2 separate regions of the Homo sapiens genome follow, and region 1 is linked to region 2. Evidence: promoter capture Hi-C in 16 types of primary human blood cells and fetal thymus (Javierre and others, 2016). All regions are on one chromosome and are shown on one strand. Each heading gives the region's core, a stretch centred on a gene start or on the middle of the fragment in contact. The rest is flanking DNA. Distances are from core to core; before and after follow the strand shown. Region 1 overlaps AGAP1 (ArfGAP with GTPase domain, ankyrin repeat and PH domain 1). Region 2 holds the start of GBX2 (gastrulation brain homeobox 2).

Region 1 (3,268 bases), core at 328-2,827, 230 kb after region 2:
CGTTCTTGGAGGCGGTCGGGTGGGCAGGAGAACAGCTTAGTGACAATTATGACACAGGCTGTTTGAATCTAGCCTTGACCACCGACCTGCTGCTGCGATAGGCCCAACTGCCTTCTGCCCCTGCTTCCTCATCTGAAGCGGGTAAGGCTCTGGCACTCATCTCCTCATCTGAAGCAGGGAAGGCTCTGGCACTCATCTCCTGGGGGCCTGTGCCTGGCAAGCAGTGAGTTCCATGAATGTTACATCACATCTACGCTGGTGGCAGCAGGACTGCCGCTGAACCGGCCGTGCCGCCAGGCGGATGCTCTGAGAAGCTGTGTGGAAAGCACCCTGAGGATCAGGCACTGCTCTGGGTTGGCTGCAGTGACCCTCTTGCAAACCAGAAACCGGCTTTCCTTTCTTTGGGAAGGATTCTTACTGAATTACTGTGCAACGCAGCAACCGCAGCTGGAAGGGGCCAAGGAAGCGAAACTTTCATTGTCCAGATCGGGGCTTCCTGACCGTGGCACCGCTGGTGTTTTGGGCTGAATAACTCTTGGCTGTGGGGGGCTGGTCTCTGCCCCGTGGCACACTCAGCAGCACCCTGGTGGCTTCTACCCACTAGCTTCCAGTAGCATCACCCTCCCCTATGTGACAACCAAAAATGCCTCCGGACATCACGAACTGTCCCAAGGAGACAAAATCACCCCTGGCTGCGAGCCCCTGGAATAGGTGAAGACACGCCGAGGGCCAGAGGGCCAAGAGGTCTGGTCCGGGCACTACAGCAACTAGCAACAATATCCTTCTCTACTCCCTGTTTACAAGCATTTCTAGATTTTTTTTGCCTTGCAACAACATGAAGATTTCTGGTCTTCGGGAATGAAATGTGCTGCCCCTGTTCGGTTTTGATCATGGGGCAGCATTTCACTGTCCTCTGTTTCCCCTGGTCAGCAGCTACTGCTGAAAATAGCTGATAGGAAGGAACTAAGGAGACAAAGTACAAAGTTACAACATTCTGATTGGGAGGAAAAAAAATCCACCTTTCACCCCCTGTGTCCAGTTACCCCAGGACGCTTCTGCCTGCTCCTCGGCCACATGCAGAGACAGGAAAGCAGGCTCCGAGCACAGAAGGGAGCGGGGTCAGCCTTTTAATTAGGCCGGCCAGCCTGGCGAGCCGAGCAGCCCTCCCGGCGGTGAGGCAGGGAGTGCCCAGCTTTGAGAGATGAGAGCCCAGGGGCCTTTAACACTGAGCTAAGCTGAAGGTTGATGACAACCCCCAGGGAACGCTTTTGAATGCCAGCCAAGATTTGGGAAGAATTGATAAAGGAAACTTCAGCATCAGTGAGAGAAGACAAAATGTCTATCCATCTTAGAACATATTTCCTTGAAAAGCAAGCGCTATCAAAAGACAAACAATTTTTATGATACAATGTTTTAGTACTAAGCATGCGTTTCTCCTTAAAAAAAAAAAAGCAGAGGGGAATGATTACAAGCTTTGAAATCAGAAAGATCTGGGTTTGAATTTTGGCTAATAATGATAAGTATGGTCTTGGTTTCTCAGCCTTTTGGAAGCTCAGTTATCAGAGATGATGATCCCCAGGGAAACGAGTGTTAGGCATGAAGGTCACAACAGCGGAGGCTGTCAACACATGTATTTCCTCCCCACCACGCTTCACTGATACCCTCCCATCAAAGAAGCTTCCAGGTCAGAGACCGGCAGTATCACATTACCGCCGCCTGCTGGTCATACACTAAAATTGTCAGTATAATATCCAAGAAGAGAAAAAAAATGCTCCAACTATAATGATTAAAATTGATGAATGGTGTGGACATGCTTGCTGGAAAGTGTGGTTCAAATGCATTGGCTCCGAAAGTAAGTGTGGGACAGACAGCTTCCGAAGCTGAAACTCATGTTTCGAACCCCCATCATCAAAATCGACGTGCAAAACATTTTTATAATGAGAAAAGACATTTAAAAGCTGGCAAAAACTCAAATGCTTTCCATTGAGGATCGGCTGCTTTATAACCACAGAGTCTACTGGAAAGATATAATGATTACGTGGCCAGAAGGAAACAGGGACCAGAGCATACACCCGTACACACACACATGTGATACACTCCTTCCATGTGGAAGATGGACATGGTGTTTGTGCTCGATGGTGACGAGGCTGCGTGGTGGCCTGGGGGAGGCCGAGGGAAGTGAGGCTCAAGAGCCACATGGAAGAGTCACGTGAAGAAATGCAGTATTAACAGTGATGGCCAGTCAGCGTGGCAGAAGATAAACTGTTGGACTGAAGCAATCGGGGATGGGGTGGAGCTATCAGAAGAACCTGACAGTCCAGGGCTGGGGGAGCGAGGCTGCCATGGCAACAGCATTAGCTGAGACCACCCGACGAGGCTGGCCCAGGCAGGAGCCAGCGGGGAGGGCCGGGCCAGGCTCACCCAGGTACTCAGGAGGCAGGCAGGCAGGTGAGCACTCTGGCCCTGAGGACAGGTGTGACGCATCTCAACGTGCATCTTGTCTTGAAGTAAGACAGGACGGCCAAGTATGCCACATACGACCCCCCAGGGCCCCTGCTACCCACAGTGATGCTGACTCGTGGCTAACGCTTCTAGAGGAAATTACCTATGGAGGAAATGATTAATCAAAAAAAATTACAGGCTTCCAATAAGATTCAAGAGAACCCTCAGCCAATAGTTGTTGCAGAGATAATTGTTCTGAATCTATCAATAAAGCAAAGCTGCCTCTTCATTGACTGCAAACACCAATTTCTTTCACCCAGGATTATAAGTTGGTGGTCACGGGCTCACTACTGCCATTACAGTGATAAACAGTTTAAACCACAACAGGATCTGACATGTAGATCAATTCTGGGTCCATAAAGAATCTACACAAGAGGTTGCAGGACAGGAATTTACAGCCACCAGTTTTTATTCTCTCTTGCTGCAAAAATTACTTCTGTCAAACACTTAGAAGAGTGGGAAAAAATGTAAAAAAATTAATTTTTCATGTACTCCTGGAACGGCCTTTTTCAATGCAGAGGCTCAAGATGAATATGTTTCTGCATTTAAAAAATTACGCTCAGCAGCATGTGGTACTCAGCAGAGGAGGGATCCAATCCTCCGTGCGGCTTGCAAGCCGGCAGACGGCAATTTGAAACCCTCAACCGAGCTGTCTGCATTTTCTCTAAGGGCAGATGCAGGTCTCATGTTAGCAACGCCAAATTATATTAGACATTTAATTTTAAACCTCAGGTACTTAAATGTGAAACCTTACAACAGTAATAGT
Region 2 (2,884 bases), core at 152-2,651:
AAGATCGATTTATCTTTATCTCCCAATTAAATGTGCTTGTAAGTGATACATAACACACGTCCAACACGGGCCAACTCCCCAACCACTAGCTCCTCGGCGTGAGCTGATTTTTAATGACCGAACTAACAATGCCCTTCTTTCCTTCTCCCCAACCCGGTGCTGTTGGCGGTTCAGGGCTGACGTCTAGACCCGGGAAGTTGAAGCCCGGGCCTTGGAGACTCGAGGAAGCCCCGCTCGCGCTGGTGCGCTCTGCACGGTCTGCCGTTGTCAAGAAGTGATTCCATTTTTAAAGGGAAGACAAGAGCTGAAAGTTTTTTGTTTGAAAATGGAAGAGGGGATAAGTACGTCCCTAGTTTCCCTCCACCCCAAAATTCCCTTACTTTCAAATTTGGGGGTCTTTACCGTTGTCGAGAACAGGGGAAACATCCTGAGGGGATCGGCTCCATCCTGCAGTTAGCAAAGAGGAACCGCGCGCCCTCGAGTCCTCGCGCTGGAAACCGGGCGGCGGCGCCAGGGTGAGCACTCCTTGCGTTCGCAACGTGCTTAATTAGCGCCTATTTACAAAACGCAGCTTTTATTTGAGCAAACATCATAAAGCTTTCATCAGGATAATCTCACGTTATACAATCTGGAGGCACAGCAACTCCCCCCTTCCTCCCCGAGGATGGAGCAGATAAAGGACTCTCTTTATTATCATAATTATCGTGGTTGTTATTTTGGTGCGCGCTGGCAAAGTGTGTAAATAGGTGCGATGATTAAGAATGTCATGAAAAATGAGAGACGGGATCGCTCACGGGAGGGCCCAGCCCGGGATGGGGGAAGCAGCAGCCTCCCCGCCCCACCCGGTGCGCGGACCTACAGCGAGCAACCCGGCGGGTTTCTGGCGGCGGGCAGGCGCTGCCAGCTCCCAGCCTTCGCCCCGGGGGTGGCTCCGGAGGGGCAGGACCCTGCCCCCAACTCCAGGACCCTCGCCCGGACCCCAGGCGCAGCCGGAGCACCCAGCGCTGGAGTGAGCCGCAGGCAGGTTGGTTCCATGGCAAATACAGTAAAAGAAATAAAGCGCCCCCGGCCCAGCCGTGGGGGTGCGGGCCCCGGAGGCTACCCTTCGAGGTGGCCTCGACAAGGCTGCAGGGCCCCAAGGTCCGAGCCTTGGAGGTGCCATCCGCCCGTCTCAAGTTTGCGCGGCACGGGCTAGGCATGCAGGCTCCGGCTCCCCGGCCCGCGCGCTCCGACGGTGGCGCCCGCAGCCCGCTCGAGGCCAGCTTGGGTGGAAAGGGCGGGGCCCCGCTTTCGCCCCACCCCCGCCCCGCTCAGCCAATGGCCAGAGGCGCCCAGCCCCACGTGAGGCGAGCCGGGCCAGGCGGCAGGCAAAATGTGAATGAGAAAGAGGAGCGCGATTTAAAGGTGCTGGCTGCGCCCGCCGGAGATAAGTACGCCGGCTTCGCGCGCTCCCCAGCGGCCCGCGGGAGGCGACGGACGGCGGGACGGACGGACGGACGGCAGCTTACCGGGGCCGAGGGCCAAACCCGCGAAGCGCGCGGGCTCCGACGGGCAAGCGGCGGACGGGGGCTCCGGCGAGCCCTCGGGGCCCGGGCGCCCTCTCCACTCCGGGGCGCACGGCCTCACCCCGCACACCCCCTGCACCCGCCCGGCATGCAGCGGGCCCAGGACTGAGGGGCGGAGGCGTCTGCTCTCCGGGTCCCGCTCGGCCCCTGCCCGGCGCTCCCGGCGGTGCTCCCGGCGTCCGGCGGGCTTCCCGGCGGCGGCGCGGCGCGGGGACTTTTCGCCTCTCGCTGGCCTCTACCGAGCGCGTCTATGAGCGCAGCGTTCCCGCCGTCGCTGATGATGATGCAGCGCCCGCTGGGGAGTAGCACCGCCTTCAGCATAGACTCGCTGATCGGCAGCCCGCCGCAGCCCAGCCCCGGCCATTTCGTCTACACCGGCTACCCCATGTTCATGCCCTACCGGCCGGTAGTGCTGCCGCCGCCGCCGCCGCCGCCGCCCGCGCTGCCCCAGGCCGCGCTGCAGCCAGCGCTGCCGCCCGCACACCCTCACCACCAGATCCCCAGCCTGCCCACAGGCTTCTGCTCCAGCCTGGCGCAGGGCATGGCGCTCACCTCTACGCTCATGGCCACGCTCCCCGGCGGCTTCTCCGCGTCGCCCCAGCACCAGGAGGCGGCAGCGGCCCGCAAGTTCGCGCCGCAGCCGCTGCCCGGCGGCGGTAACTTCGACAAGGCGGAGGCGCTGCAGGCTGACGCGGAGGACGGCAAAGGCTTCCTGGCCAAAGAGGGCTCGCTGCTCGCCTTCTCCGCGGCCGAGACGGTGCAGGCTTCGCTCGGTGAGTCGGCGGCGCGCGCAGCCGGGACGAGGGGGCGGGAGGAGGCGGGGGCGGGCCAGCGCCGGGTTCCCGCGGGAGACCAAGGGGGCGAGGCCGCGCCCCCGCTCGACCCCCGCGGGAGGAGCTGGAGGATGAGGCCCGGCTGTGCCGCTGGGCCTCCGGGGGACATTCAGAGCCACCCAACAAGCGGGGTCTCGGGAGGGGGGGCGTTTAGCGCCCGGCGACCAGCTGCTGCCCTGGGCCACATATCTATCTGACGATGCGTTTGGCCGAGGCCGCCTCTGCCGCTCCGCGGTGACCTGGGGTTCCGGGTAGGTTGCAGCCTCTAGGGGAGACGGGTTGGGCTGCGCGTCTCAGCCGTGCGTGTGCCCAGGGGCGCCCAGACTTTTTAAACCCCTTCGCTGGTCTTGCTACTTGTCTGGGAGAAACGGACTGCTGGGAGGCTGTGCCTGTGTGTTTGTGTTGGGGGTGTCTGGTGGGAACTTATAAGGCCACAAAACATCCCTTTGACCAACGTTGTCTGTCTCAAAAAAGATGGTCTGGGAT

What was found. Contacts are between HindIII fragments. The CHiCAGO score rates a contact against its expected background, and 5 or more counts as called.
Region 1: a contact is called between a fragment that was not itself captured here and the fragment with the promoter of GBX2 in region 2, in 4 of 17 cell types (M2 macrophages, M1 macrophages, endothelial precursors and 1 more). The highest score is 8.9, in M2 macrophages.

What each region holds. Positions count from the first base shown.
Region 1 is chr2:235,935,118-235,938,385 of GRCh38, reverse strand. All of the region lies in intron 12 of AGAP1 (ArfGAP with GTPase domain, ankyrin repeat and PH domain 1), which reads right to left. Among named protein-coding and RNA genes, the nearest start is that of GBX2-AS1, 230 kb to the left of the region's middle. The HindIII fragment of the contact is 205 bases long and covers 1,475-1,679 here.
Region 2 is chr2:236,166,903-236,169,786 of GRCh38, reverse strand. GBX2 (gastrulation brain homeobox 2) reads left to right here and starts at 1,401. Exons shown (of 2, transcript NM_001485.4): 1 at 1,401-2,338. The coding sequence starts at 1,816. It overlaps GBX2-AS1 (GBX2 and ASB18 antisense RNA 1), which reads right to left and starts at 2,345. Exons shown (of 2, transcript NR_186035.1): 1 at 2,118-2,345. LOC124906126 (a long non-coding RNA gene) reads right to left here and starts at 761. Exons shown (of 2, transcript XR_007088136.1): 1 at 403-761; 2 at 1-258. RefSeq lists an enhancer at 2,270-2,884. The HindIII fragment of the contact is 5,712 bases long and covers 600-2,884 here.